Regions from separate parts of the Homo sapiens genome. Here all the other regions are linked to region 4. The links are contacts of gene promoters, found by promoter capture Hi-C in blood cells and fetal thymus (Javierre and others, 2016). All regions are on one chromosome and are shown on one strand. Each heading gives the region's core, a stretch centred on a gene start or on the middle of the fragment in contact. The rest is flanking DNA. Distances are from core to core; before and after follow the strand shown.

Evidence for each region. The method cuts DNA at HindIII sites, captures the fragments that hold promoters and counts their contacts. A CHiCAGO score of 5 or more calls a contact.
Region 1: a fragment that was not itself captured here is called in contact with the fragment with the promoter of DSEL in region 4 in 4 of 17 cell types (total B cells, total CD4 T cells, naive CD4 T cells and 1 more); the score reaches 7.9 in total B cells.
Region 2: a contact is called between a fragment that was not itself captured here and the fragment with the promoter of DSEL in region 4, in 6 of 17 cell types (activated CD4 T cells, total CD4 T cells, fetal thymus and 3 more). The highest score is 9.6, in activated CD4 T cells.
Region 3: a fragment that was not itself captured here is called in contact with the fragment with the promoter of DSEL in region 4 in 6 of 17 cell types (activated CD4 T cells, fetal thymus, naive CD4 T cells and 3 more); the score reaches 11.9 in activated CD4 T cells.
Region 5: a contact is called between a fragment that was not itself captured here and the fragment with the promoter of DSEL in region 4, in 1 of 17 cell types (total CD4 T cells). The highest score is 5.1, in total CD4 T cells.
Region 6: a contact is called between a fragment that was not itself captured here and the fragment with the promoter of DSEL in region 4, in 1 of 17 cell types (total CD4 T cells). The highest score is 5.2, in total CD4 T cells.
Region 7: a contact is called between a fragment that was not itself captured here and the fragment with the promoter of DSEL in region 4, in 1 of 17 cell types (total CD4 T cells). The highest score is 6.1, in total CD4 T cells.

The regions. Positions count from the first base shown.
Region 1 is chr18:70,084,633-70,088,350 of GRCh38, reverse strand. RTTN (rotatin) reads left to right here. Exons shown (of 49, transcript NM_173630.4): 31 at 204-362; 32 at 1,667-1,738. Among named protein-coding and RNA genes, the nearest start is that of RTTN, 120 kb to the left of the region's middle. The HindIII fragment of the contact is 1,039 bases long and covers 1,018-2,056 here.
Region 2 is chr18:70,207,823-70,211,019 of GRCh38, reverse strand. LOC105372180 (a long non-coding RNA gene) reads right to left here. Exons shown (of 3, transcript XR_935599.3): 3 at 36-1,327. LOC124904321 (a long non-coding RNA gene) reads left to right here. Exons shown (of 2, transcript XR_007066411.1): 2 at 1-667. Among named protein-coding and RNA genes, the nearest start is that of RTTN, 3.7 kb to the right of the region's middle. The HindIII fragment of the contact is 341 bases long and covers 1,243-1,583 here.
Region 3 is chr18:70,185,475-70,188,833 of GRCh38, reverse strand. It overlaps RTTN (rotatin), which reads left to right. Exons shown (of 49, transcript NM_173630.4): 10 at 611-726. Among named protein-coding and RNA genes, the nearest start is that of RTTN, 19 kb to the left of the region's middle. The HindIII fragment of the contact is 3,709 bases long and covers 168-3,359 here.
Region 4 is chr18:67,514,840-67,518,059 of GRCh38, reverse strand. It overlaps DSEL (dermatan sulfate epimerase like), which reads left to right and starts at 1,340. Exons shown (of 2, transcript NM_032160.3): 1 at 1,340-1,699; 2 at 2,568-3,220. DSEL-AS1 (DSEL antisense RNA 1) reads right to left here and starts at 1,514. Exons shown (of 5, transcript NR_033921.1): 1 at 1,311-1,514. The HindIII fragment of the contact is 6,208 bases long and covers 282-3,220 here.
Region 5 is chr18:69,954,352-69,957,849 of GRCh38, reverse strand. It overlaps a transcript of CD226 not described here. Among named protein-coding and RNA genes, the nearest start is that of CD226, 8.2 kb to the right of the region's middle. The HindIII fragment of the contact is 1,345 bases long and covers 1,424-2,768 here.
Region 6 is chr18:69,864,639-69,868,118 of GRCh38, reverse strand. It overlaps CD226 (CD226 molecule), which reads left to right. Exons shown (of 6, transcript NM_001303618.2): 5 at 708-762. Among named protein-coding and RNA genes, the nearest start is that of CD226, 81 kb to the left of the region's middle. RefSeq lists an enhancer at 3,224-3,293. The HindIII fragment of the contact is 3,500 bases long and covers 309-3,480 here.
Region 7 is chr18:69,895,359-69,898,858 of GRCh38, reverse strand. It overlaps CD226 (CD226 molecule), which reads left to right. Exons shown (of 6, transcript NM_001303618.2): 3 at 2,814-3,158. Among named protein-coding and RNA genes, the nearest start is that of CD226, 51 kb to the left of the region's middle. The HindIII fragment of the contact is 2,614 bases long and covers 791-3,404 here.

The sequences.
Region 1 (3,718 bases), core at 288-2,787, 2.6 Mb before region 4:
GCTTATATTTAATTTTTCCTATATTACTGCTTTCTTGAATCATGGAATGGAGGACACTGTCTTCTATAGGTGTCTCTTATAATTTAGGATCATAAAACCAATGGATTTTTTTAAAGTGTGATATTTATGTACCAGAAAAACTAAGAATTCATGTTAGGAAAAAGGCTTATTTGATTCAACAACTTTCTCTTTAATTTGAACAGGTGAGATTCACTTCACTGGGATTAGGATCAGCACTGACCACCCTTGAAACGGGCTGTGTGGCCTTAGCAAACAGTTGTCAGAACATTTCCGGTGGGCTCTGGGGAACTGTGGTGAACATTCTTCTGGACCAGTCAGAATGTAGTATGGTGCGCCGGGAGGTATGTCTGTCTTTTCTCCTTTTTTTCCTTAGAAATTCTTTGTGATGGTATCCGTAAGCGATACTTGACTGCCGCTCAACATGGTGGACTGACCACTGACCATGATCTCTTCTGTCTGTGAACACCCAAACAAAATGACAGTAGAGGATTTAAAAGGTATTCATGCACAGGAAAAACTGGAGTCCTTCCTTCCGATAAGATAAAATCGGAATATACTATATTTTAATGTGAACTTTTTTTATTATGCATTGAAAGGTAGTTCACAGGAAAAATTACTTTTATATTATCTCAGCATTTATGGGTCTCTGATATTTATGAAGCTTTAGTATAGATAAGAGGCTGTCAAAATAACTCTTTGTAGTATTTATCATATAACATGAGAGGGAAAAATAAACCCTATTTTAATTCTTTCTGAATAGCTTGTGGTTTTTTTTTATTGCTGCTTTTGTTAAAGTAATGATTCATGTAAATGGTTTTAAAACAATAATCAAATTGTACTTAGAGGCTTATGAAAAAAAACAGCAGCTCCTGGGTCCACCATTAGCAGTCGCCAGTTCCAAGCTCAAAAGGCTAGTTTTGTTGCTGTTTGCCTTCATGTTTTTAAGTAGTGATGTTTATATTTATGGCTGCTTCTTGATTTATCAACTTTAAAGCTTTTCCATCACTTCTAGTTATCATGGTTGGAAATGTCAGTTTCTTAGAATCCTCTTGTTAATCCTGTCATTCTCCCATTATGGTTATTTCATCTTTCATTAAGCAGACAATCAATGCTCCTATTTGTATGATTATTTAATTTGATCATCTTCAGGATCTAGTCAAGTTGGACATTTGTGGTTTGTATTTCTAGTTAGCAAGTTTTTATTGAAAGGAGTCTGTATAAGAGAAGGGAGAAAGCGGGGCAGAGGGGTGCGTGTGTTTGTGTGTGTGTGTGTGTGTAATCTGAAAGGGGATAGTAGAAACCTAAAATTATATTTCTTAAATGCTACCAGAAGAATTTATGTTATACAAATCATTTTTTAATAAAGCTGAATTCTGAAATAGGAAAAGATATATTTCCTGATGAAATAATTTCATATGCTGTTAGGTCATTACCTAACAAGGTCATTACCTAAGAAGGTCATCACCTAACAAGAAATACAGTTTGACAATTCTCATAATGACCTCTCAGCATGTGCAGTTGACCAGAGATGTCTTTTGCTATTAATTACAATATATTGGTTATTTCAGAGATGACCACAAGATGGCAGTATTGACCTTTTTTTTTTTTTTTTTTTTTTTTTTTTTTTTTTTTTTTACATTTTCAGGCGGCATTTATTCTTCAGAATCTCCTTGTAATTCCAATGCCTACAGAAATTATAAAGGATTATACTTGGCAGGTGGGTGATTTTAAACAATTATCAACCTAGTAGATGTTTCAAATTAATTGGTGATAAATTTTCAGTATAAGTAGTATATTTCATTATTGATGAAACTATATACAAGACAGCAAGGGCCTCTTAAAATAGAACGTAGAATTTGTTCTTATGCCGACCAGACTTAAAAATTCTTCTCTATAGTGTTCACAATAATTTAAAGCAAATAATAATAGTTAACATATGTTTACTATGTTTTAGGCACCCTTCTAGAAATGTAAGACATAGTAACTTGTATAATTGTTTGAGTTGTGAACTGTTACTATCCTTATTTTCTAAGCTTAGGAACTTTTGCATAGAGAGTTTAAATAGTTTGTCCTAAATCACACAGCTAGTCAGTGGTACGCCTTTGCTTTGAGTCTAGGCAGTCTCTTACCCACTTTGCTGTATTACTTCTCTAATTTAGTAATAATAAACAAATTTGTAGATAGTTAAATATGTGTTGATGTTAACATCTTTTTTTCCTTTTCTAGGTTAGTGCACAGTGCGGGTTATAGTGTATCTTGCTTTGTTTTCTGTTGGGTTAACTTTCTTTTTCATGTTCTGAATATCACATCAGTAAATGGTTACCTAACATTTTTATAGCTTACATTAAAAAAATTCTAGCTTCATGGGATATATGTACATGTTTGTTACATAAGTATATTGCGTAATGGTGGTGGGGATTGGGGTTCTCGTGTACTCATTACCCAAATATTGAACATTGTACCCAGTTAGGTAATTTATAACCTCAGCCGCCTCCCCCACTCCCTCCTTGGGAGTCTCAGTGTCTGTTATGTCTGTCTTTATGTCCATGTGTATTCATTGGTTAGCTCCCACTTATACGTGAGAACACGCAATATTTGATTTTCTATTTTTGAGTTAGTTCACTTAGATAATGGCCTCCACCTCCATCCATGTTGCTGCAGTTTTAGGTAATTTGGAAGATACAAAAGTACACTTATTGGGGATATAAGATGTGCTGTTTCTGTCCTTTTACCTATCCATATATTTTCACCTTATAGGGATATATTTATCATATTGCTACACCTCACTCCTCAAAATCCTGTATAAATCTAAGGTTTATTTTTAAGTTTTAATTAGACTATACTCTTAGAGGAGTTAGTGAAACAAGCTGAACCGTAGCAAGGGCAAGTTTCCGCACATGACCCGAAGCATGAATCCAGGTGGTTGTCAAGGCCCAGGTAGCATTTAACTCTTGGAAGGCTTACCTCTCCAAACTTTACAAACCCAGGGTAACCCTACCAGTCATTGTAAATCCCAGGCTTGTAATTTGCTCGTAATTTCTTTAACATTGCCTTCTGATAATGGCTGCTTATCTACTTTCCATGTTGTAATAAAACCAGGAGACAAAACTGGAGGGAATATGCAGGATTAATAGTTATATTAATAGTGTAGTAGTTTTGGTACCTGTTATCCGGAGACTACATTTTAAAACATGTTGTTTTTGGCTCAAATACAAATAATCTCTACTCCCATTGTTAAACTAGTGACCCATGTACATGGATATACTTGGTGATGTACTACCAATGAATTTTTAATTATTGAAATAAGTATAAAGGCAGAGTATATTAAAGTTCCTGGGACATTATGTTGTAATACAGAACCGTATGTAGCTGTTCATATTTTTCTCTTAGAAATTAAATAGTAAAGTTCCTGTTTGTTGCTGGTGGCATGCTTACTGCAGTTTATTGGTTTTGTTATTCTCCAGTCTTCATCATGGAAATCCTTTTCTACTAAAAAGTGGAAAATAGTGATTTAAGTTAGCTTTTGGAGTTTTGGCCTTGCTAAGTTGGCCAAAATAAAAAAAGTTGGAGAGCCACTGCTGTCCCAAACAATAGTTGATTACAACTTTTGCTAGTCTTAGGAAAAATTAGATAAATAAGGACAATCTTGTATGCTTTTTAATAAACTCAGATTTTCTTCCTCTCTTTTCAGTCTTTT
Region 2 (3,197 bases), core at 164-2,663, 2.7 Mb before region 4:
CGTCTGTCCTTTCATAATTAAGACAACTATTTATTAAATTGTGAAAAGAAAGCAGGGCTCAAATCACGTTGCTCTAATTGAAATGGAAAGTGAATACACCTTGTTTCAATCCTTCCACTTTAAAATGGCATAAAATATGTATTAACTTTCTATTTTGGTATTGAGAGAATAAATTAGAATTTGATGATGCCCTTCAAAATTAAATATGTGAATTCATAGGACAAAGTTATGGGGCATGATTAGGAAAATTCGTAAGTGAGGGATGAAACCTGGGGTCATTTTTCCTTCCTAGAGATCAGAATTATTAATAAATCATGACCTTTATTCTGAAAGAAGGAAGGCTGGGGTGCCAGTGACTTTCCTGAAAGACACACGAAAACGTATGCCTGCCCTGGGGACAATGAATAACTTCTACACATATATTGGTTTGAGCCCCCTTTGTTTAGGAATCCTGCTTGCTTGCTCTTTTTATATGATGTTTTCATAAATAAATTATGATCCCAGTTAATGTAAAAGTAGGTTGTAAAAGGATTTCCCTCTTGGGCCAATAATGTGTCCCCTCCGAAGAATAAGAAAAAAAGTATCAGAGTGCTTCCTTCCCCCTTTTTCTGTTGCTGGAAATGTTTTCGATATGGCTGCACAAATAAATGCAGTAAGGTTGTGGGCACCTCCACTCTGCAAGCCTCCATCACTTACGTAGCAAAGTTGTTTCTGGGGCATAAGATCCCTTTGATGAAGGCAGCGTCTACCTTGCAGTTACACTCACAGACAGTACTTGAACATGGTTTGACATTGCATTCGATTCCTGGAAAGGGAGGTACCTCCAAGTTTGACAGGTGTTAAAACAGAGCTATTATTTGTAGTAACTACTTATTATGGGAGGTCTTGGAACAAATCCTTTCTCTAAATCATCTTCTTTGGCCCCCAGGCAGTCCTATTAGTAGGTATTATTATTAATCTTAATTTTTACTTGTGGAAGCTGAGGCTTAGTGAGTATAGAGATATCATTTTTTTTCTTCCCTCTGTGCAAGATTCTTTTCCCTCATTTTCTGTGAATAACATACCTTTTTAAGTGGAAGTCTTCTGCCCCACTTTCTGTAACTCTAATTTTAATAATTATAATATCCTGCCCTGCTGTTCAGAGAGTGTGAACAAATAACCTAGGATCAGGTAATCTCCTACTGGTAATCCTGATTAGGGTTCTTATCATAGATTTTATATCTGGATGCTCAGAGAGAAGCTTTCTTTTTCTTCTGGAGTCATTATATGGGAAGATGGAAGTCTGGACCACAATCTTCTCCTCCTCTACATTTTGAGGAAATTCTGCCTGTAATAGAAGAGAAACATACAACACACTGAGAAAATCAAAGCCGAGAGATGAATAAAAAACACTGGTATTCTTTTGAGTCTCTGAGGCTAGATCCACTTCTAGAGTGAGATATTAGATAACCCATTTTTGCTTACTTGCCTGACTTACAGCTTTGTTATTTGCAATCGAGAAAGTTAATCAGCTTGCCCACAGTTGTGTGATTAGGGAAGCCAAAACACTGCTTTTAAATCCATGTCTGTCTACCTCCAAAGCTTGTGCTCTATACAATATTTTAGCTTATACTGATATGAACCAGATTTCATCAAATATTAACAGAAAGAAAGGGTATAAAATGCACATGATCACAACTGACAGACCCACCATGTATAACCCCAAATATGAAAACTCATGTCCAAAGTGTGAGGAAGAGCAAAAATGTATGTCTTTTCCAAGAGGAAAAAAAGCATTTCATTTCCCCCTAGAATCAATTCCTACAGATAGTAATATGAGTTCTTAGGAGAGTAACTATTTCCTGTGACTTTGGGTATAAATATCTCATCTAATCTGAGTGATCTGATTCAGCACACTGAGGCAATGACTGCCAGTGATTTTACAGGTATGACCAAGAGGTTGAAGATGAATCAGATTCAAGTGGAAATAGCAGAATCAGTAGATAATTAGATAGTAGAATTTGACCTCCGCCTTTGGGTTCATGTGTCCTTAATGTCCTGTGGCTTGTGATCATAGCAAATCTCAACATATAATAGCTCTACCCATGACCCCTTCCCAATCCATGTATATATCACCAGTTGAGTGACCATCATTTATCATCGTGTAAAATTCAACATAAGTTTTTATACATAGCATTTAAATAAATACAACAAAAACCACTGTAAATACAAGAAGAAAATTATGTAGTTTTCTATACATCCACGCAGACATCTATTGCCCATTTTTTTCAAGTTCACCTAAAATCTTTGACTTTAACATTCAAATTACAAAAGGCCCTGACCTTTTGTAATTGTTGCTGACTCTGATATAATAAAAGTCGAAATTAATAACTAAAGTGTATGTAAGAAAGACTTGGTGATTAAAGACCATCTTCCTACATGGATCTTGGGTGAAACAGAAAGTATCAAAACAGCAGTTTCAGATTGGCTGAGAACAAAACCTTACAAATTGAAACTCATGATACATGATTAAAACTTTTTTTACATGCAAATTCATGGACTTAAAATTCTCTATAACTAATAAAGAAAGAATGTAAACAAGACCTTTAGCTTAAGAAGTTAAAAAAAGAACAGCAAAACACACTTAAAGAAGGATGTAGCCCAGGTGCGGTGGCTCACGCCTGTAATTCCAGCATTTTGGGAGGCCGAGGCAGGAGGATCATTTGAGGTCAGGAGTTCGAGACCAACCTGGTCATTGTGGCGAAAACCCATCTCTACTAAACATACAAAAATTAGCTGGGCATAGTGGCTCATGCTTATGATCCCAGCTATGTGGGAGGTGGAGGCAGGAAAATCACTTGAACCCAGGAGGCAGAGGTTGCAGTGAGCGGAGATCACACCACTGCACTCCAGCCTGGGCGACAGAGTGAAGTAACTGGTAAAAAATAATACAGTCAATACACTAGAATATATATGTGTGTTTTTAAATAGTAGAATTAATAAATCAAAGGTTGATTTTTTTTTAGGAAAAATTGCTGAATCAATAGTCTAATAGGAGAATGATAGATTATTTGCTTTGAATGTAATGAATGGGATTTAATTATTTTTGTCTAATTACAGGAGCAATATATGCTCAACAATGAAAATAAAATAAAATGTTTATGTTGACCTTGGGTGCAACATAAGTAAAACCCTTTCATAGTTTGACCCCCATTTTA
Region 3 (3,359 bases), core at 773-3,272, 2.7 Mb before region 4:
CAGGATAATGGAAGTGGAGTCTTTGTTATTCTGTCTCTGTGGAGAAAGGAGGTTGCTCTGGTGGGTGTGACTTTGGGAAGTTTTTTTGAGTTTAAGGTGAGTACAAATAGTTTCTTTAGCAAATGTTAGCATGTTCATTTATTCCTTTAGTTGCTCCAGTCCAAGCTTAGCTTCCCAGGCAACTCCTGTGTGGGAAAATACTAATTTATGAGAAGGCTCACGCCTTCTAGTACTAAGTAGAAATTATTGGAATACGTTTTCTAAACCTTTCTGGTGCTTTGTCACATATTACGTGTAAAATGGATGGTCCCTAAATTCGAAAAATTATTTTAATCTATCTCACAGTACTTGTTAGATTATTGCTACTTTCAATATCTTTTCCAATTATAAATGTATTTGATTTGTTATGTAGTAAAGTAGTACTGTGACTGGAACAGAAGCCTTCAGTGTGATTGTAAATTGTGATTTCTCTACAGTTCTAAGAACATTAGAAAAAAAGAGAAAATGTTGGAGCATGACTAACTAGAAAATTGAGCAATATGATATTCAGCTGATTATTTTAAAGTTAAGTAACTTCTTCTCCTTTACTTTTTTCTGTTTGTATTCCTAGGTAGCAGACAAGTGATAATAAGAGTTCTGGAATTGCTTACAGAGGATATGACACTTATTGGTGAAGCAATTTCAACAGATATCTGGGATGACAGCAGCCTTTTTGGTATAGATATGGTAAGAATCAATGTTTTCTTTGGGATATAGGGAATAGTATTTTTTAAGATTTTGGTTCTTTTAAGCCGGTTTCATTGTCTCATTCGTGTTCAAAATCTTTTTTCTTTTTGACTCAATATGTCCCAGGCTTATGTTATAAATAGCCTGGAACAGGCCTATTTTTCCAAAGGTTCTGGTTACTTCTAATAGTGGAACGTATATTAAGACCAAAACCAGGCCATTAGAGGTGGTTATAGCTACTGTGATATCATTCTTTTCTTTCAGGAACAATTAGGAAATACGTATTTTTAAAGATCGTGAGTTTATTGCTATTTTTCTTATTTTAAATTTGTATTTCTTATCCTTGCGCTTGTAGAAAGTCTTCGTTCCTAGCAATATCAGCATAATTGCTTATTAGCTTTGACCTTAAACATACATAAGATAGTTTCAGAACAGCAATATTAACATTGCTATGAACAATTCTAATGAAAAGTTCAAGATTTCCTGGCAGTTCTTTTTGAGATAGACTAATCTCACTAAGGATATACAGTCAAAATACTGTGCCTTAAAGCTACCGTTACCCATTCAGCATACAGTTAGATTTTTTTTTGTTTGTTTTCACTATTGGGAATTGTTTTTTCTTCATAAAAATGTAGCTCAGAGATGCCTCTCTCCCATCCAGTTACCTTTAAGATGTTTTCCTTATTGGTAGTCATTTTTATTTTCTGGCTATTTTTTTCTATTTTTATTTTATTTTTGCAAATGTAAGCAACTAAGTATGTAGATTCTTATCCTCTCCCCATCCTGCATAAAAGGTGGTATATTATAGACACTGTTTTGCACCCTGTTTTTATAACTTAAAAATACGTCTTATGTGCATAGAATAGTAGGTATGAGGATTATTCCCTATCTATCTATACGTGAGATTTTCTCGTTCTTTTTTATAGGTAGCAAATGCTTCGTTGTGTATTTGTTAACCTAGTCTCTTGATGGATATTATTGTTAATATAAATTATGTACAAAGAATAATGGGCTTATGCTATTTCATAAATGTGCAGGTATGTCTCTAGGGTAGATTTATTTAAGTGGGCATGCTGTTTTTCTAAAAAACTTTTATTTAGCTTCAGCGGTACGTGTGCAGGTTTGTTATGTAGGTAAACTGTGTCATGGGGGTTTGGTGTACAGATTATTTTGTCACCCAGGTAATAAGCCTAGTACCCGATAGGTAATTTTTGTGGTCCTCCTCCCACTCTCTGCCGTCGAGTAATCCCTGGTGTCTGTTATTCCCCTCTTTGGGTCCATGTGTTCTCATTGTTTAGCTCCCACTTATAAGTGAGAATATGTGTATTTGGTTTTCTGTTTCTGGATTAGTTTGCATAGGATAATGGCCTCCAGCTCCATCCATGTTGCCGCAAAGGATATGATCTCATGCATTTTTATGGCTGCATAGTATTCATTGGTGTGTATGTACCACATTTTCCTTAATCAGTCTCCCATTGATAGGCATTTAGGTTGATTCCATGTCTTTGCTATTGTGAATAGTGCAGCAGTGAACATACACATGTATGTGTCTTTATGGTAGAATGGCCTCAAGTGATCTGCCTGCCTTGGTCTCCGAAAGTGCTAGAATTACAGGTGCGAGCCACCGCGCCCGGCTGAGCCATGTTGTTTATGTAGTAGTACAGCAGTTCCTCACTTGGCATCATAGATAGGTTTTCGGAAACTGTGACTTTAAGCAAACTGACTTATAACAAACCCAGTTATTTTTTCTCATCAGCATTTAGTGAAATGGCATGGAACTTGTAATGCTGTTTCATTAAAGTCAGTTTCCAAGAACCTGTTGACCAAGTTAAGTGAAGGCTTACTGTAGTTTATTCATTTTATTTCTGAGTAGTATTACATTGTGTGGACATACCACAATTTGTTTATCCATTCACCTGTTGGTGGACAATGGGGTTGTTTCTAGTTATTACAAATAACATTCCTATGGACATTCCAGTTGTTCCACATCTTCAACATCTATTATGTTCAGTTTTTTTTTTTTTTTTGGGGGGGAGAGGGCATTCTGATAGATGTGCAATGGTATCTTAGTGGGTTTTAATTTGCATTTCCCTAGTGACTGATGATTATGAGCATCTTTTGTAATTTTTAGAGAGCAAGTCTAGGTTTTTTTTTAAAAAAACACTTATTCTTAAGTATTCTTTTCAATGCCATTGTGAATGAAAATTTTAAAAGTTTTTGGATTGCTCATTGTTAGTATATAGAAATACAATTGATTTTTGTGTATTGATCGTCTATTTGGTGGCCTTGCTGAACTTACTAGTTCTGGTAGTTTTTTTTGTTTTGTTTTGTTTTCTGGTAGATCCCTTAGGATTTTCTATCTATAAAATCTTGTTATCTGTGAATAAAAACAGTTTTAAGATCATCTTATCTGTGAATAAAGACAGTTTTATTTCTTTCTATTCACTCTGGATACCTTTAATTTTTTTAAATTGCCTAATTGCCCTGGCTAGAAGCCTTAGTATAATGTTGGATGGATGTGGTGAGAGCCTTCTTCATGATTTAGAGGGAAGCATTCGATCTTTCACCATTAAATACAAGATTAGCTCTAGTACATTTGTATTTTGTAGATGCCTTTATAAAGTTGAGGAAGT
Region 4 (3,220 bases), core at 91-2,590:
TGTGGCTATTTGGACTGGGCTAGGGGTTACTACGGGGCCAAAACAGAAGAGTGATGAGGAGTTAGAGGCCACATTTCACCTCAAAGTTAAATGATTTGAAATTTATTCTGCTAGCAGTCGTCTACTGTTTGATTTTCAGCAGCAAATGATCTAAGCAAGACATTTATTTTTAAAATGTTAAAATATATCTTATTAAATATTACCAAAATAGTATGGGAAATGAAGAGACTGAATGTGTTACTAATCCCCAACTGAGAATGGAATTGTTCATTTGTGAAGCTTGATATTTCCCTGTATTTTTATTACTACTAAGCTATTATTTTTTACATTTGAGGTCAGAGCTTGGGTTGGTTTATGCCAAAGTGTCATCTCAGCTATCTGTGAGAAGCTCCATGTGTGGAGTGCAACAGGAGTCCCAGCCTGCTCTAGGATTTCCACGACCTGGCACTGCACTCACATGTCGTAGTAGCCGGGGCACACTGCCTTCTCCTGTCTGCATGTAGGTCTTTACCGAATACCAGGTCCCATTTTTAAATAAGAGGCTCCTTCTACTTGTTTGTCCCATGCTTCCCCTATTTATACTGCCTGAGAAATTGTTTTCCATCAGTAAAGCTGATTAGTCTTTTCTGTTTTCCCTTGATCTTTGTTAGCATCTGGGCTACAGAAGTTGTCCTCCTATATTAATCTGGGTATTTCGGTTTTGCTTTTCCAAAGGACAGCAAGCTCAGCCAGGCTGCCTCTCAGTTCCAAGGGAGTGCTCATTCCCTCCTTCCCCAGCCCTTGCTCTTTCCAAAAGGATGATTTCTGTCGTCCCAGGGCTTATCCCCTCCCACTCCAGCTCCTCCCATCATTTGAGTCAATCCCACAGCCCCCACTATGGCTCTATTATATAGTTGTCGTCTTCCCATAACCAAAAGGTTTTAACGCCAGCCTGGCAGCGTCTTTAGACTCTCGCACTCCCAAACTGTCCCCTCCTCCAGCTCGACTCCTCCGGGAGCGCGCGGCCACCGCTGCAAGCCCAGAACACAAACGCCTAGAGCTTCCTCCGCTTAGAAACCCGGGGCGCTTGGCCCCGCCTCACCTGCTTTCGGCCCCGCCCCGCCCGCCGCCGGCCTGCTCACGGCTCCTCCCGTCCTCCCCGAAGCCCCGCCTCTGACCCCGCCCTGTCCTGTCTCCGTCCCGCCCCACGCCCGCCAGCCAGCGTCGCTGTCTCTCGCCTTCCCTGAGGCCCCGCCTTCAGCCCCGCCTTCAACCCCGCCCCGTCCTGCCTCCGCCCCGCCCCCGCTTGCCGGCCCGCGTCGCCGTCTCACCCTCCCCGGGCTGCGCGGCCGGAGCTGGCACAGAGGATCCTCGGCCGCGGCGACATCACCGCCTGGGCACGCGGGCGCTGCTCTGGATACGGCGCCACCGAGAGAACCCGCCGCCCGCGGGTCTCTGTCCTGCGGTCCGTGGTTGCCCCCACAAGCGTCCGGCGTTTCCTGAGGGCGGGCGTGTCCGGGCCGTGCGGGTCGCGGGGACCGAGCGCGGCTGAGGAGACCGAGCTGGGGCAGCGCCTGCCGTAGCGCGGGAGACGACGCGGGGGTCTTGCGGAGCCCCGCGGGAGCCTGGCCCGCCGTGCAGAGCAGTTTTCTGGAACTCTCCACCTCCGTCTCCCTTGGGGCCCAGTGCGGCGCCGAGCCCCCGTCGGGATCTGCCTGAGGTAAGCGGACTTGGTGGCTCAGGGGTCTCTCGCCATCCTGCCTCACTCAGCCCCAGAGCGGGGAGCGGAGAATGGGGGCGGCAGGGTCGGAGGACGCCAGTGAAAAAATGCAACAGGCGGGGCGGATCAGGAAACTCCTAGCCTGAATGTTTCCTACAGAGGGGAGACTTGTCCAAGACTGAAACTTGCTTAGGTTCTTCCAGCCGCGGACGGGCACGGAGAGGCGTCTTTCGACACCGGGGTCCGAGCTCCCTCTGGCGGCTCCACCTGAGGACAGGGACTCGGCCACAGGTGAGCGCCGAGCGCGGAGCTCCCGCCCCTCGGCTTGGCGCCTGGTCACGATTCGCGGTTACCCCGCCGAGAAAAGTGACTGGTCCGAGTAGTTCTCATTAGGAAGATACCTTCTGATCCCATGAACTCTAAACCTTCCCCCGGAATTAAAAAAAAAAAAAAAAAAAAAGATCTTTTCAACTTTCAGTTTTTTGTCCCTCGGTCCTTGGGAACAAGAAATAACAAGGATAGCAGGACTCATCTTTGTGTAAACTGCATTTGAATACAAACATTTTTTAAGTGACTGAAGCCACGTTAGTGGCGTTAAACTATAGATATTGTCGGGAGAGTTCTATCTTGTATATTTTGTATTGTTAGTTGCTTGTCTTCTGCTGACGGTCACTGGTTTCCAAATAAGTGCGTGTAAATGGATAAGAAAAAAATCACTTGCCCTAGCTTAGGTTGCAGATAATATGAGATTTTACTGTGATTCTAAAATTTCTATTAAGTGATTGCAGAATGTTTAAGTCATCAGTTTATATTCATTCTCAGCATACCTGAAGCCTCAGAGAATTTTTATTTTGTCCCCCATCCCCAGAAAAGTGTCATGAAAAAAGAGCAGAAGAGAGACCTCACTGTTGCTGAAAGGGGAATTTTCTTTCCCCGTTGGCGGTTACTTCATGATCGGACGAGAAGTATCTAGGTGACTGAAGATATTCCATTTTTATGTTTGTACACATGAAGCTGATAAAAGAAGATGTGAACATGATTTCTCTTTGTCATAATAGGCTGATGAGTAAGTAAGCCTGAAAAATATTTGAAATGAAGGCAAGAATTTTGAATTTTTAAAAACCAACTAAGACTTTGATCACTTGTTGAGGATGTTTCTCTCTCATAAATGAAAGAAAAACGTATTCACAAGACAAGAAGTATAAAAAGTTGAGAGGAATGACAACTGAGTCCACTCACTCGAAGAATGTCAGTACTTCATCATCTTCTTTGGGCAAACATACACAAATGCATCATACATGTGTGGTGAGCTTATCACCAGTGATGGTTTTCTGTGCTAGAAATGACTCTTAATTTGAATTTTGGAGTGCTTTTTCTCTTTTTTTACAATGTGTGTTCCAACTCTTTGTGTTAAATAGATTTAAGTAAAGGAGGTAAATGCTAAATTCATAGTGTTTTTTACCTGTATCACTTCCCTGTGTATTATGGAAAAATTAGAGATTTTAACGTTATTCAAAGTTT
Region 5 (3,498 bases), core at 847-3,346, 2.4 Mb before region 4:
GTGAGGCATTGAAGGGAGTGACGAGAGTCAGGCAGGTGTTTGAGAAGGCTACTCTGGCTACCTCTGGCCCACAATAAGTCTTAGTAAACACTTGTGTCTTGAGAGGCAGTATTGCACTTTCTTCTCCCTTGCTTTCGTATATGCGGTGGTCCAGCAGAAGAGACCAGTCCTGTACCTGCGATGCATAATTAAATGTGCAGGGTAGGGCAGCCCCATGAGTGCCTTCTCACCTGTCAAACGTCCTTCCTTCCTAGTCTTTCTATGAATTTTACACACTAAAGCCTCAGCCACAATCCTTCATGGTGGTTTAACCAGCAGGGAACCTCCATAACCTAATAAATCAAAGGAATCAATAAAACTAACGTTGCCATGGCCTGGTGCAGCAAAAAACCTAGTGTTTCTAAGAGACAAAAGCTGCTAAACATGCAGGGTTCGTTCTCAGGAAACACCGACTTGTGTACTTTTTCTGTCGGAGAATGGGAGACAAAGAAAAAAAAAAGAGTATCTAGAAAGTAAGACCGAAACATACTTAGATATGGGCAGAGATAAGGAAGCCTCTTGACTTAAAAAGAGGGCTGAATCTAATGTGCTTTGATTGGCAGGAAAAAACACGAGGAAGAAAAGGCAAAGAAACAAACTGATTTCGGCGGGGAGTGTAGTTTCTATTTAGAGCTAGAACAAAGGAGAAGTGCGTCCTTTCAAATTATAGATTCTTTGGGGGAAAAGAGGGACAGAACTTTATCTGAGTTTGGAATGAGTCTGAGTAGCTGCAATAGTAAAGTTGCTTCCAGAAGCAGGTAAACTTGACTTCAAAAAACCCCGCTTCATGAAATATTAGTGATTCACTTCAGTTGCTATCTGAGGAAGTTCTGGTAGAGAGAAGAGCTCAAGAGCATGGGCAGAGTCAGCTCCTGAGTGGGCTGAACGCTCCCCTCAGCTCCTGCAGTGCTAATTAAGGGAGGGAGCAGCGGGGAGCTTGCAGTGACCAAGAGGGTGTTGAGGCTAGGAGGCCACGATAAACAGGATACGATAAAAGTCCTTAACCAAGACGCAGATGGGAAGAAGCGTTAGAGCGAGCAGCACTCACATCTCAAGGTTAGTAACCTTCTCAGAAAAAAGACTGGATGTGTCTGAGCTCAACTTTTTAAATGAATCGTGTGCGAAAGGGTGGGGGCTGCCAGTGAAACCATGGCAAGTTGATGCAGCAGGACAAGAGAGTTGCCGGAAAAAGCTGGAGTAAGTTAAGTGCTCGGTGTTCTGTGAACTGTTAGTTTAATGAGGGGTGCAGTTTGTAGTAAAAGGGTGCCAGTTAAGTACTTTTTCTCAGTCTGTCTCTAGAATTGTATTTATAATAGATCTGATCGTAAAGTTCTTGAGAATAAGAAAACTGAGCTAATTTTACCGGCATCTGGTCTGTCAAGCTTAAATCTTCCTTCTCTCCAGCAAGACTGAACAAGGATGAACTTAAATAATAAATGTCCATGATCCAAAGATTTATTATCCTACTCAAGGGTTGGGAAACTTTTTCTGTAAAGGGCCAGATAGTTAATATTTACAGCTTTGTGGGCCGTGTGGTGTCTGTCAGTTGTGACCTAACACCTCTTGGTTCCAGCATTGCAGCACAAAAACAGCGGTGGATGGTATGTAACCAAGTGAGCATGGCTGTCTCCAACCAAACTGTTTATGGAAATCAGTGGGCTGCGCCCAGCCCTCAGGCCATAGTTTCAGAACCCTGTCTTAGAGGATCCCTGCTGAACCCCAACTGGAGTCTTTGCGTTGACTGGAAGTGGGGTTCTACTGGTCACTCAGCAGTAGCCTCACTCCTGGGGACATGTGTATGACTTGCCAAGGTTCTAAGGGTATCGTGGTCTAGAGGAGACCATGTGGCCCACATTGGAAAGGTTCTCTTAATGAGATTATTTGAGGAAGGGAGCAGAAACCCAGACTATTGTGTTCCTGAGGAAATTTTTTTTTTTTTTTTTTTTTTGAGATGGAGTCTCGCTCCTTTGCCCAGGCTGGAGTGCAGTGGTGCGATGTCGGCTCACTGCAAGCTCTGCCTCCTGGGTTCACGCCATTCTCCTGCCTCAGCCTCCTGAGTAGCTGGGACTACAGGTGCCCGCTACCACACCCGGCTAATTTTTTGTATTTTTAGCAGAGACGTGGTTTCACCGTGTTAGCCACGATGGTCTCGATCTCCTGACCTCATGATCCGCCCGCCTCGGCCTTCACTTTGGGATTACAGGCGTGAGCCACCGCACCCGGCCTCCTGTGGAAATCTTACTGGAAGTATGAGCCTCTTAACAGCTGGGGCATCCCAGCAGAAGGCAGGCAAACCCTCGCATCTGAGAAGGAGTGGAGGGAGCAAACGACCTCTCACACTATAATCTTCCCAGCCCCAGTCACTTGTTCTGAGTTTAGCTAGATTTTCTGTTCACAGTCCTCTGCTTTCCAGCATGTGAATAGTTTTCCAAGCAAGTGTCGAAAGGTATCAGAGCAGATTCTCCATCACACACATCAGGTGTTTTTGCATAAACTGGGGAAGGTGGGGTCATTGAGTAGACACTAGGAGACTCCTCCCAATGCTCAGAAACCATAGAGACATCTGGGGAAGCAGGACATATTGTAGGTAGCAGAAACAATGAAACTGAGGTGACAGGGAAGGTTCTACCTGGGTGGACAGCCTACAGGAAGAAGAACAGTGTGGCTGAAGAGTGTTCCCCGTCCCCACCCACCCAGGCCACCTAGGAGTCTGCATTCAGAGGCAAGCTTGTGAGATGAATTCATGCTCATGTGGTTAGCTGAGACATTTTTAATAGTAGAGAAATCCAGTAATATTTTGATTAATGACTTCCTTGAGGACAAAGCTCTTTTATACAGACAGCTCTATTAGAAAAAAAACCTCAAGCCAAAATCCCTTCATAAATCATGCAAAAAATGGCTGCTGACACAACAAAAATAGCTCAAGCGCTGTCTCTATTTGTCTTTGGTTAGATGTTGATAAATAGGGCTCATCTCTAGCAAAGTCGTAACAGCTGGACTTTGTCTTCAGCTGCAAGTCTTTCTGCCCCTTTCATTCGAATCTGTGACCTCTAGGACCCTCAATTCCAGGGTGCAAATACACAAGTTCTCTTCATCTCTTGACTAGTTGGCTCTGGATGCCTTGGGAATAAGGAGTTCCTACAAGTTATTACCAGTTAGTACCCCTTTTCCAGTCCTCCTCCCATGAACCTCATTTCTTTATCCTGGGTGAGGAAGTTCACTTTGGGCCTGATCATAGAAACCACCGAGAGTGGATGATGCTAGGTTTCATCTCATTTCCTTTAGGATTTGAGGCAGCACGGTGTTGCAGATGCCTGCTTGGCCCTCAGCCCTTCTACCTCTCTACCTGCACCTCTACCCCACTTTACCCAACCCTGACCCCTCCCTCAGAAAATAGATATGTTTTGGCATTTGTTTAATAAGCACATAATGATTTTTAAAAATATCTTAAATCATTTA
Region 6 (3,480 bases), core at 809-3,308, 2.3 Mb before region 4:
AGGTTTTTATGGGTTTCATTGGAACTGTGGAGCGTTTATTGAATACTGTGGTTGCAGATGGTCCTTTCAGTCACGGCGAAGTGATTCCAGAAGTTGGAGAGCTTAATAGTCAAGAGGGAGGGCGATGGATTTAAATTCCAGCACTACACCAACCGATCATGTGATTTGGGACAAGTTACTCTTCCTCTTCACACCTTAGTTTCTAAACCTGTTTATATGAAATCTTAATAAAATAATCTACATAAGTGATTTAATAAAATAATCCATACGAGTGATTTAGAATAACACCCAAAAGATTTTATAAAGCTTCATTATATTGTCATCCAAGAAGTTACACTGCTGGCATTTAAAATAAATTTTAATTGTGGAAAATGTCTTAAATGTGAGGTTATTTGGAGAAAGCTATAAGTCATTTATGTAATAAGTCACTATAAATCATTCTTTAGTAAAATCACTGAGATTAATTACTAATGCACAGTGGTTAGATATCCATTTAGTTGCCCTCACCATCTGGGAGCAATTTGGAGAAGACAGGGAAAATGAAAAAAACTGTAGGGTAACAGAATTTTGGATAAATGTGCATAAAGCTACTTCAACATATTAGAAGGTGCATGTGGGCTAGGGGTACAGTGAGGTATAGAGTCTTCGAAATAATATTAGTACTGGAATATCATATCTTTATATCCTTTATTGAATATGCATTCCAGAAGGAGAAGGAGAGAGAGAAGAGATCTATTTACAGAGTCCTGGGATACACAGAAGGTAAGTTTATACGGAACTGTCATTTTTTTCTTTTGTAATTTACAGATGCAAAGTCAGTCTCTTTTGCAGTTAGCAATCTTATATTTTATTGTCCTTTCAGTAACCTGACCATGCAGTTGCCTGTAATTTAAATATCAGCTATTTGGAGAAAGTTATTTTCTGAACTATTCTATTTTTAATACCCTTTGAAACTAAGTTTTTTATATGAATATAAATAAAGGAGCAATTACCCTGGCGTAATAACAATCAACACTATGCCTTCCCTAAATCTTTGTTCCTTTTCTAGGGCTGCTGTGACAAATTACCAAAACGGGGTGGCTTAAAACAACAGAAATCTATTCTTCCATAATTCTGGAGGGTTGAAGTACAAGAAACAGTGTCAGAAGTACTGGTTTCTTCGTGGGATGAGAATCCATCCCATGCTTCTATCCAGCTTCTAGTGGAGCTGTCGATCCTTGGCTGGTAGACACATCGCTCCAATCTCTGCCCCTCTCATCACTGTTCTCAGCTGTGTGTGTGTGTCTGCCTTCCTTCTTTTCTTATGGAGACCCCAGTTATCTTGGACTTAAAGGCCCACCCCTCTCCAGCACAGCGTTGTTTGAGCTTAGCTAATTACAAGGATCCTATTTTCAAATGAGGTCACATTATGAGGTTCTGAGGAGGACATGAATTTGCAGGGGACAGTATCCAACCCAGGAGAGGACATAATATTTTTATGTCATAAGGTTATTGTGATGGTTAAATTGCATAAAAGAACCAGAAGCGTAGCAAGCACATAGAAGAACGTAATGATATTCATTATTATTATTATCTTTGGAGGTAAGTTATTAGTGTATACTTATACAACCAAAGAACTTTTTTATTTCCTTATGGGCTGCAGGAGTTTGATGAGCTGTAAAAGTTTCTTCCTTATTCTGCCTTGCTGCTGCCCCTTAGTGTTTAACTAAAAGACTAGAAACTTCCTTCTGGGTTTGCAGATAAGAGGGATATGTATTTTCATGCTCGTTATCCCCACTATACTTCAAATCTCTTCCTTTAATGCATAGCATCCTGTTTATGAAATTTCACAAAAAAAGTTGCTATGGATTGAACATTTATGTCTTCCCAACATTCATATGTTGAAATCCTAATGCCTAATGCGATGATATTAGGAGGTGGAGACTTTGGGATGTAATTAGATCATGAGGGTGGCGTCTTCGTGAATGGGATCAGTGCCTTTTTAAGGACAGAAGAGCTTGCTTCCTCTTTCTGCTCTTTGCAATGTGAGGATACTGAGAAGACAGTTGTCTGCAAACCAAGAAACAGGCCCGCAGGCCCTCACTGGACTCTTTTTTTTTTCTCAAGTTAGGAAAATATTTTCTTAATCTTGGACTTCCCAGCCTCCAGAACTGTGAGGAATAAGTGTTTGTGGTTTAAGCAACCCAGTCTACAGTATTTTGTTACAGCAGCCCAAACTAAGACAAAAAATTCCCCAATTCCTAGCCAAAAGTATATAAATTTCTTTTCATTTTAACTATTCGCAGTGGAATTCTACATGGCCACAAGCCAAGTACTAAAAAGGTTCTGACAATCCAACATGTGTTCATCAGATGCCTTCATAATTTATCAGTTTAACTTTTTATTTATTAAGTAGTTACTTTTGCAAAAAATATTTTTTTTGTTTGTTGGCAAAAAACATGGATTGCTTCTTGATGCCAACTGTAGAATCAAGAAACCTTGCTTTATTTCATCAGCCACTTCAGCAAGAAATAAATTGGTGCTCTGTCATACACAATTTTGGGATTCCCTTCTTCATCCTTAGCCTTTGTCTACTCATGCCAGTCTAGTCACATTTATTGTTGTGAATTTGGGGAATGAAAGGGAGCTTTGCAACGGTCTATATTAGGTATCCAACTTTTTCAGGTTTTTGTAGAATAATATTTTGAAGGATTATTAAAGAGTTAATAGGTTGGACTGTCAAAAAAAGACATTAGAACTACTTCATTCTCTTTTTTAAAAGATAACCTCTATAAGTAATCATGGCACTTGAATTTTCATTTTGCTTTCTTCTTAAAAACACTAACATCTGGCTGGTCATGGTGGCTCACGCTTGTAATCCCAACACTTTGGGAGGCTGAGGTGGGCGGATCGTCTGAGGTCAGGAGTTTGAGACCAGCCTGGCCAACATGGCGAAACTCCATCTCTACTAAAAATACAAAAATTAGCTGGGCGTGATGGTGCTTGCCTGTAATCCCAGCTACTCGTGAGGCTGAGGCAGAATTGCTTGAACCTGGGAGGTGGGGGTTGCAGTGAGCCTAGATTGCGCCACTGCACTCCAGCTTGGGCAACAGAGCGAGACTCTGACTCAAAAAAACCAACAACACTAAGGTCAATCTAAATTTTTAAATTACTCATCAAAAGACCTTTCTCTAGTTTCTTTTGTCTCTTAATTTGTCTTTCTTTTTTCACACCTGCATATTTTCTGTTACATACATACATATGTGGTCAAAGTGACTTGATTACGGTAGAGAAGATTAATGATTATACAATATCATCTTGATGTCAGTTTTGTTAACTTTTTATATGTTAAGTTGCTTATTTTTTAAAGTTCAGACACTGTGTTAGAATTTCCATATAAAAATGATAGTAATTGTTCTTATCAAAATAGCTTAACATTGGGAGAGGGAGTTCTACATTGAAACAGGTAATTCATAGCACAATACAGCAAGTATTAATCTA
Region 7 (3,500 bases), core at 848-3,347, 2.4 Mb before region 4:
TGTTTGTGTGGGCTCTTTCTGGCAGTTCTTTTCAAGGTCATTTTGAGCTGCCTTCCACTGAGCTTTGCAGGAAGAGCCTGTGGTCTGAGAAGCCACAAGCAATATCTGAGGCAAGGCAGGTTTGGCCGACCTCGTAATAGGTCTTGATTTTCATCTAACACCAATCAGTTACTCTGTTTGTCAGGAAAGGTTAATCAGGGGCTACTCTGAGCTTCTGAACCACCTGGCTCTAGGGTTGGGAACCACTTCTTTCACCTCCAGGCTGAGTCTATTGAGAGGCGGGTCTAGGTCCTCACATGGAGCCTCTGCTGTAACCTCCCTGCACTTTGCTCCCCAAAGACAGCTGCATCCCCTCTAGGATTTTCCCCATTGCTTCCTGCATTGTCCTTTGTGAAAATGCAGACACGGCTATGAGTAGACCCCTGTTTCTACCTGAGTCGGCAGGTTCACGGGGGCCTGACAGCATGGTTTTGGTTAGATAGGCAGACAAAGGAAACTCCTGAGATTGGACGGGGCGGCATCCAGAGAGAAGAAGAAGAAAAACACAAAACAGTTGTGCGTGTGAGCACTGAGGACACGCATTCACGCTGCCTCTTACTTCCCAGGGACCAGAAGGGCTCACATGAAAGTCGATTTCTCCTCCTTTTTTTCATTTCTTTTATGTTCTTTCATTTCTCCACATGGTGTGCTAGCATCTGATTTTATGTTGTCACGCATTTCCTTCTTTTCTCACGTCTTCCTTTCCCTGTTTTAATTTTTATTTTAATTTTCCTTTTGTTTCTTTTAAGCTTTTATTTCCTTTTTTCCCTTTTTTAATGAATTTTCTTCCTTTGCTTTTCTTTCTTCCCCTTTTCTTGTGTTGCTTTATTACTTAGAGACGAAATGTTTTCCGGGTGTGTGTTATGTGGGTAAAGTGCTACCTTTGGTAAACGGTTGTACAGAGGAGAAAGCTGGAGTGCTGTGGTTTTCTTTTTACAACATTTTGACACATGGAACCGCATGCTGAAGATGAGAAGCTAGTTTTTGGTGCGGCTGAAACTATCGTAGCCATGATATTCTAGTTCAATAGATGGCAAATCTTACTGCACTTTAGACTTGCTTTCATTCTCTCTTTCGAAATGTGACATCTCTTTTGTTTCTCTGTCTCCTTTCCTTCCTTTTTTCTTCCTCCCTCCTTTTTTCTTTTTCTCTCTTCTTTTTCTCCTTCCCTCCTTCCTTTCTCTCTTTCTCTATTTCTTTTTTCTTTTGTTTGTATGCCAAGACAATGGCTCCTGGGCCAGTCCTGAGTGAAACTGTCACATAGTTGAAGTGACAGATGACTTCCCACTTTTTGCATTTCTCCCTTAGTGCCAGAGAGTTTTGTGACATCATTACTGCCCAGGCCTCACTCTACTGAAATAGCAGGTCAGGATTTGTTGGCATTAGTGATGCCATCAGAAGAAAGAAGGTGTTCATCACTAATAAATAGATCCACTTGTTACCTTGCTGGGTTATCTTAATTTTAAGAAAGAGTTACCACAGTTTATTCTTTAGATCGGGTTCCCAAACTTTTTGGTCTCAAGACCCCTTTATGCTATTTTAAAAATTACTGAAGGCCCTCAGGGAGTGTTTGTTTATGTACGCTATATCTGTCATGTTTACTGTATTAGAAATCAATATTGAGCAAAATTTAAAACACAAGAATTTTCAAGCATGCATACCACTAGCTGGCAGAGCCTCTGGAAATATCTACTGTATACCTGTGAGAGAACTGGAGTGAAGAGGGGGAATTTCCTCTCAATATCACTAGGAAAATAGATTTGAACTGGCATATCCCCTAAAGGGACACAGAGATGCCCAGGGCCCCCAAACACACTCTAAGGACCATGGACTTAGATATTTAGTGACAATTACTGAGTACTTTATGGTAGGAATTCCAGAAATGGTGTGAGGAAGGTGGGAGAATACTGGACTTTCATGGTATCAAGAATTGATACCACATGTGGGGCCCTACTCTACCCATGTGTAAGACAACCCTGTATATCTGAAGAATGAGATCATGTGTATATTCAGTGAGAATGATTTGGTATCTTTTTCATAACTGTCAGAATCTTAGCCAGAATGATTATAACCTGAACATTTGATACTGTAGGTCAGTGTCAGAGACACCAGCCCAGCATTATTGCCTAACAGTCTCTTTGTAAAATTCAGCCTCTTGATATGATACCAAGAAAAGCACCAGGGGTTTTGGCTGTGTTTCTCACTACATGGTTAACCAAGTAACACTTATGGAACTATGTGTGAACAATCATATCCTCTTTTCTATTTATCTCCCGGACTTAAAAACAAAAAACAAAAAACAAAAAAAACCCTTTCTCTTACAAGAATGTGTCATTCACAACTGGGTGCGGTGGCTCATGCCTGTAATCCCAGCACTTTGGGAGGCCGAGGTGGGCGGATCACAAGGTCAGGAGATTGAGACCATCCTGGCTAACACGGTGAAAGCCCGTCTCTACTAAAAATACAAAAAATTAGCCGGGCGCGGTGGCGGGCGCCTATAGTCCCAGCTACTCAGGAGGCTGAGGCAGGAGAATGGCGTGAACCTGGGAGGTGGAGGTTGCATTGAGCCGAGATCACACCACTGCACTCTAGTCTGGGTGACAGAGCAAGACTCCGTCTCAGGAAAAAAAAAAAAAAAGTAGTATAAAGAGGTCATTCACAACGGAAGAACTGTGTTAGGTAACATCACCAATTATTTTTATGATTAAGTATCTTCCAGTTGGGTGTCCCAAAATTTGACAACCTGTATCTAATCATTTGCTTCTTCTTTTCAGATAGTTTTGAGGCAGCTGTGCCATCAAATAGCCACATTGTTTCGGAACCTGGAAAGAATGTCACACTCACTTGTCAGCCTCAGATGACGTGGCCTGTGCAGGCAGTGAGGTGGGAAAAGATCCAGCCCCGTCAGATCGACCTCTTAACTTACTGCAACTTGGTCCATGGCAGAAATTTCACCTCCAAGTTCCCAAGACAAATAGTGAGCAACTGCAGCCACGGAAGGTGGAGCGTCATCGTCATCCCCGATGTCACAGTCTCAGACTCGGGGCTTTACCGCTGCTACTTGCAGGCCAGCGCAGGAGAAAACGAAACCTTCGTGATGAGATTGACTGTAGCCGAGGGTGAGTGAGCACCAGACATCTTCTGGTATCAAACATGGAAAAAGCCAGCCCCGTGGGCTGGTCTCTGTTTTTATTTATGGTAAACATGTTCATTTAATGCGCATATTCAGCATTTTTTTAAATGGCTGAATTTAGGTGAGTTGGCCATTATTCTAGTATTGAGGGTTTCTTTATCTTGTGAATCCATCAATCAGATACAGCAATAAAAATCTTTCCAATTTTCTTATCTGCCACCATCCTGAAGCTTAAAAAAGAAATTCGTAAAGGGCTGAAAAACATATGGTATTACCAGCCTTCAGGTTTCAGCTGTAGAACTCCTATCTTCCCAATTACATGAATATT